Regions from separate parts of the Homo sapiens genome. Here region 2 is linked to region 1. Evidence: promoter capture Hi-C in 16 types of primary human blood cells and fetal thymus (Javierre and others, 2016). All regions are on one chromosome and are shown on one strand. Each heading gives the region's core, a stretch centred on a gene start or on the middle of the fragment in contact. The rest is flanking DNA. Distances are from core to core; before and after follow the strand shown. Region 1 holds the start of TMF1 (TATA element modulatory factor 1). Region 2 has its middle 4.1 kb from the start of SHQ1.

Region 1 (6,494 bases), core at 2,737-5,236:
GTGCTGCTGTAATTTGTTGTGTATTATGTGTGTAGGAAAACTGCCCAGCTTGTAGCCAGCTTCCTCAAAATATTCAGTTTTCTCCATCAGCTAAACTACAGGAGGTTTTGGATTATCTAACCAATAGTGCTTCTCTGTAAGTATTGTAGATTTTTGTTATGTTGTAAAAATCATTTTTGTGATTTTTGAAACCTTAAAAAAATTATCTTTTGATAAAAATTATGTTTGATACTTCTCTCTCATCATAATCTTTAGGCAAATGAAATCTCCAGCCATCACAGCCACCCTAGAGGGAAAAAATAGAACACTTTACTTACAGGTTATCAATGTGTATTTTAAATTTTTTTCAGAAAATTATATCAAGTTTTATTTTACTTTAATGTGTCTTACATTAAAGTAATTTTGTTTTCTAGTCGGTAACCTCTATTGAAGAACGAACAAGGCCAAATCTCTCCAAAACATTGAAAGGTATTTTACATAAGGGTATTTACTAATCATTTTCTTTCTTTTCTCTCTTTTTGGTGAAAGTAATCAGTGCTTGTTCTAGATTTCCTCTTAATGCCTTGTATATGGTCAGGTAATAATTACTTACAACTTTAGACATATTAATAGAATTAATTGCTCTTTTAGTAGAATATTTTAAAATCTCTAAGAAATCAAATATTACTTTGATTAAAGAGGATTGGATTTTGATGTTTTTCTAGACCGTAATACTCTGTAGTTTGTTTACATGTGTATTATCCTTTCTGTTGAGTTTTTTTTGCTTGTATTAATAATATTTTTTCTGTTTTAGAATTGGGGCTTGTTGATGGACAAGAACTGGCGGTTGCTGATGTCACCACCCCACAGACTGTACTATTCAAACTTCATTTTACTTCTTAAGGAAAATCTCCACATAATAGAAAACTCATGGAAATAATATACTTTGTGGATGCTAAGAAGTTGAATCGATGTCATTTTTAGCAATAGTGTTGCCACGATTTGTCTTTTTTTATATAATGAACCACTCTTTTTTAACTTTGTAACCTTCCCTTGAAGACAGAATTTTGGTGTTGGTGCTTGTAAGCATTTTCATTAATAATATGAGAAATGATACCTGGAGAGAGAGATTATGAGCAAATGTATTGCTTCTTTTAGAGGAGGAAGCATACAACCTCTTTTGTGTGAATTTTGTTATTATGGTCAAAGAATGCATTCCTAAGTTTTCATTTGAGTACCCAAATACACAAAAGGTGTCCCTTTAAGGAAAATAAAGAATTAAGTTTTAAATAACATTACATTTTACAATCTGACATCTGGAGTATATTGAACATAGGCTATTTCTTGATATAACACTCATTTAATTGTGGCCATCCAAATGAATATTATTGCAGAATTTATCTTGTTCATAATGATTTGTAAATGGTGTTATAGCTGAATACCTGTGCATGAAAATGGGCAATATTTTCATCTGTTTACTTGTAGTGCCATAGAGGCCAATATGCACAATATTAACTAATGCCAAGACATGGCTGTTTAAAAAATTTAATGTTCAAACAGTTATCACTGATGCTTTTGCACTATTTATTAATAAAATCATATATTGTGTACTTCTTTCACTGAAGTTTTTAAAAGTACATTAAGGGTAATCAGTAGTTCCATGGTAATATAGGAATAATTTTTAAATGTGTAGCAGAGTTATATCAAATTTTTATTGCACTTAATACTTTTGCTACAGCAATTTCTATAGTAAAAATTTACTGGTTTAATTTAACTTTCTGTATCAATATAATTTTTTTTTTTTTTTTTTTTGCGACAGAGTTTCGCTCTTGTTGCCCAGGCTGGAGTGCGATGATGCAACCTCAGCTCACTGCAACCTCTGCCTCCCCGGTTCAGGCAATTCTCCTGCCTCAGCCTCCGGAGTAACTGGGATTACAGGCGCCTGCCACCATGCACGGCTAATTTTTTGTATTTTTAGTAGGGACGGGGTTTCACCACGTTGGCCAGGCTGGTCTCAAACTCCTGACCTCAGGTGATCCACCCCCCCCCGCCCCCCTCGGCTTCCCAAAGTGCTGGGATTACAGGCATGAGCCACCATGCCTGACCATGTTTTTGTTTCTTTTAAGTGAATAAAACTTCAAACAAAATTAAGTACAAATACTAAAAAAGTAGGTGCTAGTATTTTAATATGAGAACATGTATGTGTTCTCATTCTTTGTTTTTGACTTAGATATGGCAGTTTTCTGTTCAAATGTTTTTTGGTTACTTATGTGTCACTGAGTTAAGTTTTCAGTAATCTTTCTAGCTACATATTGACAAATAAGTTTTATTATAAAACCATACGGAATAAATTTATAAGCTCTACCTGAAAAGTTACAGGTGTAGCTTACAATTTTGAAAGTGAAGGAACTAAAATTTAGCACCATATAGGTGCTATAATAATTCTCAAAGTAGCATTGTAAGAAGGTGACTCTATCTGAGAGCTGAATAAATAGTTTTAGATGGTTTAGGTAGGTCATTTCACCAAAGCTGTACAATTAGAAGTCTTGGAACTGTAACTGTACAGCTAATTTCAACCCGAATCTGCCCCAAATCTCCTCTGCAGACTACTTAGCTGTTTGAAAGTACTTGAGTTACTTGGTACTACTTGTGTACATGACTAAATTGTTAGTTTTAACATGCAAGTTTTTACTGTAGTTAGATAAAATTATTGGAAGATGATTATAACTTCTTAAGGGGTTCAATCTGATTTTTTAAAAGAAAAATAATTCTTTTTTGCAGAGTTCCTTGCAGTGGGGTAAAATATTCAAATATGGGAGGCAGGCATATAAGGTAAATAATCACAGCAGGGAGGGTGTAATAGGATGAGTGATAGGGGTCTGTGGCAAACTGGAGTGAGTGAAAATTATTTGGTGACCACTCTGGCTGACTATTCCCATGCTTGGTATTCATATTTTTCAAAAGCAGCTGGAAATCTAGATTTTTGAATGAAATCTGGCTTTTAGTTAGGATTTTGTCTTTAACTTGGGCCCAAACCAAATATAGCTGCAGACTGGATTAGGAAGGCCACCAATTTAAGGTATTTTCCCATGTCCAAATGTTCGAAGAGAATGCACACAGAAAAGGTTATGTTTTAAGTAATATGCACAGTGCACATTGTTAGGATAACAGCTTTAGTGCTTCCTAGGTGTCTTAGTCCATTTGGACTGCTGTAACAAATTGCCATAAACTGGGTGGCTTATAAGCAGTAGCAATTTGTTTCTTAACAGTTCTAGAGGCTGAGAAGTCCAAGATAAGGAGCCGGCAGATTTGGTGTCTGGTGAGGGCTGCTATTCTGGCTTAGAGTTGGTGCCTTCTTGCCGTGAGCTCCCTTGGGCCTCTCTTATAAGGGCACTAACCCCATTTATGAGGGCTCCATCATCATCTAATCATCTCCTAAAGGCTCCCCTTAATACTGTCCCATTGGAGATTAGGTTTCAACATAGGAATTTGTGCAGGGGACACCGACAGACCACAGTATTAGGGGTATTTTGACTGCAGCAATGAGTTTACTACTATTTTGAGAGAGAGGTTGTGCTTTATGCACCATGTGTTCCACGAGTTGGACACAGTGTTCATACGTGATCCTGTCTTTTAGGCAAGCCCAAACAAGTGTTTCTCCTTACAATACCAAGTTAATACAGAGCTTATTAAATATTTGAGACAAAGGGCTAAGAGAAGTGTGAGGCCCAATTTCCCTTTGCAATTATTGCTGGCAAGGTGCAAGCTTTTAGCACGTGAACTATTTTCCTGGAAAGCACACACACGAAAACTTGAATATTCCTTCCGGGGAAATCGACCTCTATCGGTAGCCATAGCTTCCCCTTCGCTAAGAACTGCTGTAAGCACGAAATCGACATCAATAGAAACCCTTCCGCGTTCCTCGGTAACTAACGGCAACCCTGCGCTCCCGGATGTGACGTCAACGTTCTTCTGTTCTTCCGTCTGTCGACCGAACTCTGGGCTCGTAGATTTGGTTGCTGTGTACGTGGAAGAAGCAAGCGCATGCGCACATGGGCCCCCTTCGTCTCAGCTGTGCGGGAACGGCCGAGGGTAACATCCCGGGCTCGCGGGAGGCTGTCGGGGTAATGGCCACACGCTGACAGAACCAGCCGAGTGGAAAAGGGGAGCGAAGCCGTTCCTCTGCACCCTTCCCCAGGCCTGAGGCCTTCCCGCTTGGTGCTGCCGCCGCCACTGCCGGCTGAGGAGGGGCGATGAGTTGGTTCAACGCCTCCCAGCTCTCCAGCTTCGCTAAGCAGGCCCTGTCCCAGGCCCAGAAGTCTATTGACAGGGTTCTGGACATCCAGGAAGAGGAGCCGAGCATCTGGGCCGAGACCATTCCGTATGGAGAGCCGGGTAAGAGAGAGAGGAGCGGGGTTCCTGGCTCCCGGAGGCTGCTGTTCTCTTGATGCAGGCAGGTTAAGTGGTGTAGAGAGGGGTCCTTCCTTGCTGAGAGAGTTTTCAGGAAGTAATTTCTCCCCGGCCCGTTCCCTAATGCTGCTTCAGCCTCCAAGTCGGTCTTTGCTGTTTTCCTGAGGGAAAACCCAGATCCAGGTTCCCCCTTGTCTTTCTTTGGTCCTGGGTGCGAGGCTTGTGGACTTGGATGACAGGGGACTTGGTTGGTTGGTCTTGCCCTCAAGCTCTCCCTCGACGCAGCTTCCAAGCACAACCTTCCCGAACCTGAACCTCGAATTGCTTCGCGTCTCGGGCACTGTTGGGATCCAAGGTCTGAAGTACGTAAATCATCAGGGAAGGGAAGAACAATCGCTAACAGTCAGTGAACATTTCGCGCTTGGTAGCGCGTAATGTGGTTTTATGTTGTTGTTGAGACGGAGTCTCACTCCGTCGCCCAGGCTGGAGTGCAGTGGCGCGATCTCGGCTCACTGCAACCTCCGCCTCCCAGGTTCTAGCGATTCTCCTTCCCCAGCCTCCCTAGTAGCTGGGATTACAGGCGCCCACCACCACGCCCGGCAACTTTTTGTATTTTTAGTAGGGACGGGGTTTCACTATGTTGGCCAGGCTGGTGGAACTCCTGACTTAAGGCGATCCACCCACCTCGGCCTCCTAAAGTGCTGGGATTACAGGCACGAGCCTGTAATGTGCTTTTTTATGGCCTTCTCATCTTCAGAACAACTCCCAGAGAGAGCTTGGTTTATATCCGTGTTTTACATAAGAGGAAAATGAGGCCCAGAATGGCCAAGTAACTTGCTCTAGGTCACACGGCGGAGGAGGATTAGAATGTGCCGGAGGTATTAGCCGGAAAATGTGTGACCCAAGATTTCTGGATGGTATCACATTTTATTTCTGAATAGCCAAGTCTCTCTTTGCAGTTTCATTGAGCTTAATCTTTCAGGGATCTTCATTCAGTTGCTTTTGACTCTTAAGTCTAAGGAACAGTTCAGCATTTGATGTGTGGGGTAAAGATTTGCTGGTGTTGGGGGATGTGAACCTTTGTGTGAAAAAGGATAAGAGATGTACTTGACTACTCCTTTCTGGTTTCTGTTCTTAATTTTACATCATTGAAAAGTCAGGACCTAAATTTGAGGTACCTCAGTTTAAGATATTTTGGTCCATGTGTGTATGTGATGATCCTCTTTACTTTTTACAAGATGTCATATAACCTTGCTGGAGTAACTCTGTTTTTTCATATGTGCCCCAGTTAATTAGAATTACTAAACTTTAGATAAGATAGAATATAGGTTTTACATATAAGGATATTTGTTTTCGGAAAATGCCCATAGTCTTCAGAATGGTATAATTTAGATGGATACCAAATAACCCTGGGATTATATAAAGTATTCTCCAAGAGGCAAAATTAATTCCTGTCATCTTTTGAATGTATTTAAATTAATCAGACATAATCTTGGTTGTTCATTTGCATATTTAATTTTGATTTTCTCTGGTTTGGATATTGTGCAAATGAATGTGTAGAACTATGCCTCCAAACTGAAGTTTTCTACATACTTTTCATCCTAACTGCCTTTGAAGTCATACATATATTTACATATATATATATTTGTTTTTTTGTTTTTTTTTTTTTTGAGACACAGTCTCACTCTGTCATCCAGGCTGGAGTGCAGTGGTGCCATCTCTGTTCACTGCAGATTCTGTCTCCTGAGCTCAAGTGATTCTCGTGCCTCAACCTCCCGAGTAGCTGGGATTGCAGGTTTGCGTCACCACACCTGCCTAATTTTTGTAATTTTAGTAGAGACAGGGTTTTACCATGTTGGCCAGGCTGGTCTTGAACTCCTGACCTCAGGTGGTCCGCCCGCCTCGGCCTCCCAAAGTGCTGAGATTACAAGCGTGAGCCACTGCGCCTGGCCTGAAGTCATATTAAAGGATAGATTCTACTATAAGGCTTGATAGTTTTTAGAAGCTTTTAGTTACTTGTGCTCTCTCCACCAACTTCTAATTGTGAATATTTTGTGAATATTTTGTTCAGCCACATTTTAATTTGAAAAAGAAAACATTTTTAA
Region 2 (7,139 bases), core at 3,608-6,107, 3.8 Mb before region 1:
CCCAAGTAGCTGGGACTACAGGCATGCGCCACCACGCCCGGCTAATTTTTGTATTTTTATTTATTTATTTATTGTTATTTATTTATTTTTGAGATGGAGTTTCACTCTTGTTGCCCAGGCTGGAGTGCACTGGTGCGATGTCGGCTCACTGCAACCTCTGCCTCCCAGGTTCAAGTGATTCTCCTGCCTCAGCCTCCCGAGTAGCTGGGATTACAGGTGCCCACCACCATGCCCAGCTAATTTTTGTATTTTTAGTAGAGATAGGGTTTTACCATGTTGGCCAGGCTGGTCTCGAACTCCTGACCTCAGGTGATCCACCCATCTCGGCCTCCCAAAGTGCTGGGATTACAGGCGTGAGCCACCATGCCCAGCCTATTTTTGTATTTTTAATAGAGACGTGGTTTCTCCCTGTTGGCCAGGCTGGTCTTGAACTCCTGACCTCTGGTGATCTGCCCACCCCTGCCTCCCACAGTGCTGAGATTACAGGCGTGAGCCACTGTACCCAGCCAGATCCTGAGAGATTTTGATGCATGTGATCTATGAGGAAGGGTTCTCTGGAGAAATTTATTAAGGAGGAGGTGAAAGGGAATGGGAAAAGGGAAGACAGCCAAAGAAAGATGTGGGTTTGGGGAAAATCTAGCCTCGGCTGGATCCCATTAAAAAAAACAAAACAAAACTCTGGAGCATAAGCCATGCCACAGAGTCACCTTCCCTTTTGAGGTGGTCTTCTGAACCCCATATCGCTCTTCATGATTGCAGGCTTGGGCAAGGGGGTAGCGGTCGTCGTGGTAGTAATTAAATCCTGGAGGTTTCTTCTATCAATCTAGAGCAGCTGTTCTCAGCCCTGGGCAATTTTGTCCCCTCAAGGGCATTTGGCAAAGTCTGGAGAAGTTTTGTGATTGTTACACCAGGAAAACTCGTGCTTGTATTGAGAGATTAGACGATAAGGATGCTGCTAAACATCCTACAGTGCATAGGACAGCCTTCTGCAACAAAGAATGATCCTGCACAAAATACTGGAGTGAAGAAACCCTGAGCTAAGGCAATTCTTTGGCGGGATCAGTGGCAAGCCATTACATTCACTGCTAGTGACAGATGAGCTTCCTGGCTCCATAAAGGGAATCTGGGCAGGGCATCAGAATAGTACCTTTTGCAGATGCTTTTTCAAAATATGATGTTAAACAATGAAGGAGGCTTGAAATGCTGTTCAGTTAGCATTCTTTTGTGATCCTGCATTTCATTTAATGGGATAAGACTAGCATCTTGATATATATATCACTAAGCCCTTAGGTACATTGCTCAGAAATCTTGTCAAAAAACACTCTTATGTCAGCTGTAGCCATTTTGGATTTTCTTTGGAGCTTTATCGAACTTGTGCAAAATTGGAATTGGGCTGAATCCTCCCTGAAATACTCATTACTATGCTACATTAGTGCTAACACTGTGCTCCTTAGCAAGTTTAACTCTAACAACTGTAATGTGAATGGGCTAAAGGATTGGGGAAAAGAACAAAAATAGCTGCACTTAAATCCAGAGGGGTTTGAAAACCACTGGAGGTCACCAGTGTCAGACTCATGGTCTTCTTAGTCTACATCCTGTTGGGACCATCCCTTAAACCTCTTTTACAGTCCTGTATTTATCTGTCAGTTACCCACGAATTTATCTGTGTCCTCTTAGAAGCAGTTTATAGCTTGGAATTGCAAAACTCAGGGTATCAATGGCAGGAAATATTTGCAAATTATGCCTCCAACAAAAGACTAATATCCAGAATTTACAAGGAACTCAAACAACTCAACAAGGGGGAAAAAACCCAGTAAAAAGTGGGCAAAGGACACGAACAGACATTTCTCCAAAGAAGACATACAAGTAGCCAATAAACATGAAAAAATGTTCAACATCACTAATTAGAGAAATGTAAATTAAAACAACAATAAGACATTATCTTAACACCAGTCAGAATGGCCATTATTAGAAAGTCAAACAACAACAGATGTTGGCATGGATGTGGAGAGAAGAGAATGCTTATGCACTGTTGGTGGGGATGGAAATTAGTACAACCTCTACAGAAAACGGTATGGAGATTTCTCAAATAAATAAAAATAGAAATATAATTTGAACTTGCAATCCCACTACTGGGTATCTACCCAAAGGAAAATAAATCATTGTATTACAAAAAGACACTTGGCTGAGTGCAGTGGCTCATGCCTGTAATCCTAGTACTTTGGGAGGCTGAGGTGGGCGGACTGCCTGAGCTCAGGAGTTCGAGACCAGCCTGGGCAACATGGTGAAATCCTATCTCTACTAAAATACAAAAAAATTTAGCCAGGTGCGCACCTGTAGTCCCAGCTACTCGGGAGGCTGAGGCAGAAGAATCACTTGAACCCGGGAGGCAGAGGTTTCAGTGAACCAAGATCGCACCATTGTACTCCAGCCTGGGCAACAGAGCAAGATTCCATCTCATAAAAAAAAAAAAAAAAGAAACCTGTACTCATATATGTATTGCTGCACTATTCATGATAGCAGTCATGAAATCAACCTAAGTGTCCATCAGTGGTTGACTGGATAAGGAAAATGTGGTGGCTGGGTGCAGTGGCTAACGCCTATAATCCCAGCACTTTGGGAGGCCAACGTGGGTGGATCACTTGAGGTCAGGAGTTCAAAATCAGCCTGGCCAGCATGATGAAACCCGTCTCTACTAAAAATACAAAAAATTAGCTGGGTGTGGTGGCACACGCCTGTAGTCCCAGCCACTCGGGAGGCTGAGGCAGGAGAATTGCTTGAACCCGAGAGGCAAAGGTTGCGGTGAGCCGAGACGGCGCCACTGCACTCCAGCCTGGGCGACAGAGCGAGACTCTGTCCCAAATAAATAAAATAAAAAATGTGGTATAATTACACCATGAAATACTATGCAGCCATAAACAAGAATGAAATCAAGTCCTTTGCAGCAATATGGATGGAGCTGGAGGCCATTATCTTAAGTGAAATAACTCAGAAATAGAAAATCAAATACTATAAGTTCTCATTTATAAGTAGGAGCCTAAACAATGGGTACACATGAACATGAAGATGGAAATAGTAGACACTGGGGACTCCAAAGGGGGGAGAGTGAGAGGGGTAAGGGCTGAAAAATTACCTAATGGGTACTGTGTTCACTATTTGGGTGATGGCTAACTAGAAGGACAACCCCACCATTATGCAATATATCCATGTAACAGAATTGCACATGAACCCCCGAACCTAAAATAAAATAAATTTAAATAAAAAACTCATGAGTGCCATTGTATTACCACTGTTATACAAAAGGATTTTTTTCAAACTTCAAAATGTGTTATCCAGTTTGTACTCTAACTTTTGTATTTTTTTAATTTTTTTTAAATTATACTTTAAGTTTTAGGGTACATGTGCATATTGTGCAGGTTAGTTACATATGTATACATGTGCCATGCTGGTGCGCTGCACCCACTAACTCGTCATCTAGCATTAGGTATTTTTACTCTAGTTTCATGATCCTAGTATTAGTTTTTTTTTTCCTTTCTTAAAATGAATCATCACTGTGTTCAATTCTGTTTTTAAGAGTTCTAACACTAGGCCAGGAGTGGTGGCTCACTCTTATAATTCCAGTGCTTTGGGAGGCTGAAGTGGGAAGAGTGCTTGAGGCCAGGAGTTTGAGACCAGCCTTCACAACATAGCAAGACCCCGTCTCTACTAAAAAAAAAAAAAAAGTTAGCTGCGTGTGGTGAAACATACCTGTAGTCCTAGCTATTTGGGAGGCTGAGGTGGGAGGATTGCTTGAGCCTAGGAGGTTGAGGCTGCAGTGAGCTATGATCCTGCCACTGCACTCCAACCTGGGAAACAGCACAAGACCCTGTCTCTGAAAAAAAAAACAACAAAAAAACAAAGAGTACAATTGTGGATAAACTTATTCTTGACAAAAATGTAGTCAAATGGAAATATTGTAATGCCACATATGTATTTTATATATTATATATATATATATATATATATATATATATATATATATAGAGAGAGAGAGAGAGAGAGAGAGAGAGAGAGAGAGAGAGAGAGAGAGAGATATGGAGTCTTGCTCTGTCACCCAGGCTGGAGTGCAATGGTGCAATCTCAGCTCACTGCAACCTCCACCTCCCAGGTTCAAAGGATTCTTTTGCCTCACAGCCTTCCGAGTAGCTGGGATTACAGGTGGTGCCACCACACCTGGCTAATTTTTTTGTATTTTTAGTAGAAACAAAGTTTTCCCATGTTGGCCACAGCAGTCTCAAATTCTTGACCTCAAGTGATCCACCCGCCTAGGCCTCCCAAAGTGCTGGGATTACAGGCATGGGCGACCGTGCCCAGCCTGTAATCCTATATTAAGTGAAGAAAGCAAATATAGATTATGACATTCTTTTGTTGAAAATACTTCCCATACTTTTATGAATAGGAGTCTGAAAAGATGTATGCCAAAATAATAACAGTGGTTAAGACGTAGTTTGCAAATACTGTGTAAGATTCCACCACCTCCCCAAAATGGCTCAGAGAATGAACTAGCGCTATAAACAACTTATTCAGGAAGCTATTTTTCAACATAGGTTAAAGCTCCATTCTTTGAGATAACATTGTTTTAATCACCTATATGCATGCCACCTTCTGGAAACAAGGAGTATTTCACCATTAAAAGACTTCTAACAATAGAACTTGGTAATAAAGCTGACATTGGAATTGTTTATAAAAACCATTTTTAATTTAACATTTAATTTGGAAGCTTATGGATCACAATCAGGGTTGTTAGACCAGAGGAGGGGCCAATTTAATATAATGAAAGATGATAGGTTACACACTTGTCCTACATAAGTTGGTCATGGAAAAAACTTTATCTTATTATTTTATTTCATGTTCTCTATAGGCCAGAAGGAAAAACTATTTTTAAAACAGTGGAAGGCCATTCAAAAGTAAGCTTTCAGAAAATGAAAAGATAAAAAACACTGCAACATTTGAATGCTCAAAAATGATGAAAAATTGCATTCCTGTTTTCCCCTCTAAACCAGAGCTAATTTAAAACATTAAAATAATGTCTTTATTCTCAAGCAATGTCTGTATTCAGAAATAGAAACTCAATTTGATCTATGAATCAATATAGCTATGTCTCAAAAATGAACCAAAGTAGGAAAAAAAGCATGTTGCAGAATTACTTTCATAGTGTGAGAATGTGCCCATATAAAGTGGGTCTAAACACAAAGCAACAGGGTCCATAGAAATGGATGTAGAAATAGAAAAGGGTCTGAAGTGATAGCTAGGACTGCCTTTGAGGAAGCAGGAGAAAGAACCAAAGTTGCATGGCAGCCAAAAGGAACTTTATGTTCTTAAGTGAGAATGAATCTATAACTTATATTTACCACTAATAGAAATGCAAAAATAAGAGAACTATTGCCTGCAAGAAAACAAAAACCAACAGAAACCCAAAACAACAAAACCTTGTTATATACTTGAAACTATCCGTATTTTGTGATTTAGCAGATGCAGTATATATTTCTTATAATGACGGCAGCACTGAACCATGTTGTCTGTTTTCCTGTGTTGCAGTCCTGTGTGTGTGTGTGTTGCCAGACACATAATAAAGTACCCAGGAAATGCACAGCTCTAGTTTGCAAAGTGCTTTCAATTAGAATTTCCTCATGGATAGCATAGCTTGTTTCAGTTGATTCTCTGGCATTAATAATTTAAAAATATTAATGCTTGTGACCTACAGGAATGAGGTCCCATGGCAGATGTAAAGATTATTTCTTTTTTTTTTTTTTGAGATGGAGTTTCACTCTTGTCACCCAGGCTGGAGTGAAATGGCACAATCTCGGCTTACTGCAACTTCCGCCTCCTGGGTTCAAGGGATTCTCCTGCCTCAGCCTCCTGAGTAGCTGGGATTATAGGCACACACCACCATGCCTGGCTAATTTTTGTATTTTTAGTAGAGACGGAGTTTCACCATCTTGGCCAGGCTAGTCTCGAACTCCTGACCTCAGGTGATCCACCCCCTCGGCCTCCCAAAGTGGTGGGATTACAGGTGTGAGCCACCGCTCCCGGCCAAGATTCTTTGTAAAGAAGCTAATTTGGAATAGTTTAGTCACAGGCCTATCTCAAGGGACCTTTTGAGAGCTTTATTAAATCAAAGTTGGCATCAATTCATTGTCAATATTGAGTGCCTATTACTTGTAAGGCTCAGTATGGTCTAAAGCAGGCAGGCTTGGCTTTAGAATGTGAAACAAAGTAGGTGGTAATAACAGAGGGAGTCAACTCTGTAATAGTGTAGAGCCTGGGCCTAGGAATCAGACTCACCTGGGTTTCAATTCCCATTGCACCACTTACTAGCTGTGAGATCCTGTGCAAGCCAAGGGAATATATAATGCCTACTTCATAGAGCGGTCAGGAGGGAGAATGAGATCATTACAAAGGGTTTGCTGCAGTGCTGGCACATAGTAAATATTCAGTTAATGTTAGCCCCTGTTACTATTAATTTTTTTTCTGAGTCCTAATGAAGTTTCAAGAATGTCTCCTTAGAATCATAAAACAGCTGGAGATTGAAAAGACTTTTGAAGTTTTCTGGTTATCTCCACTGTCCTAGGAGAGTACTTTTCATCCCTTTTCCACTGATACTTAAAACCACGGAATAAATACCACAACTGGATTATTCTAATTAGTGGTGGAATAACAGGAAACAACATGTGTGGAAAGGCCAAGGGAATATGTGGGGGAAGAGGGAAACCAGCGGGAGAGGCACTGAGAGAGTGTAAGGGGCACACTCCAAAGGGAGAAAATACAAGGAAGACAAGTAGAAAAAAAGACAGAAAAGATGTCCTCAGACAAGTGTAAGGACAAGAGTGAGAAAAAGGAAAGAAGGGGAATACAGAGGGACCTTAATTTGTGAATGCAGTCACCGACACGGTTTAAGAGTCAAACGTTCTGAGTTCTAATTACTGTAAAATGCATGGTTATAAAACGTACTGATTAACCTCTCTGAGCCGTTTTCTTTAGAGTTTGCAGCGTAGATTAGATGAGATTAGCGGGACGGACGCTCTGTTAAAGAGAAAACTCTTCAAATAAGCCGTTAAGAATGAGAGAGAAAGCTGCAGAAAAAGAGAAGTGGAAAGAGA

Evidence for each region. The method cuts DNA at HindIII sites, captures the fragments that hold promoters and counts their contacts. A CHiCAGO score of 5 or more calls a contact.
Region 2: a fragment that was not itself captured here is called in contact with the fragment with the promoter of TMF1 in region 1 in 1 of 17 cell types (total B cells); the score reaches 5.9 in total B cells.

The regions. Positions count from the first base shown.
Region 1 is chr3:69,049,825-69,056,318 of GRCh38, reverse strand. It overlaps TMF1 (TATA element modulatory factor 1), which reads left to right and starts at 3,986. Exons shown (of 17, transcript NM_007114.3): 1 at 3,986-4,374. The coding sequence starts at 4,233. It overlaps UBA3 (ubiquitin like modifier activating enzyme 3), which reads left to right. Exons shown (of 18, transcript NM_003968.4): 15 at 36-136; 16 at 256-319; 17 at 414-468; 18 at 794-1,589. The coding sequence ends at 882. RefSeq lists an enhancer at 3,925-4,394. The HindIII fragment of the contact is 2,649 bases long and covers 3,748-6,396 here.
Region 2 is chr3:72,848,990-72,856,128 of GRCh38, reverse strand. No RefSeq gene overlaps it. Among named protein-coding and RNA genes, the nearest start is that of SHQ1, 4.1 kb to the right of the region's middle. The HindIII fragment of the contact is 192 bases long and covers 4,762-4,953 here.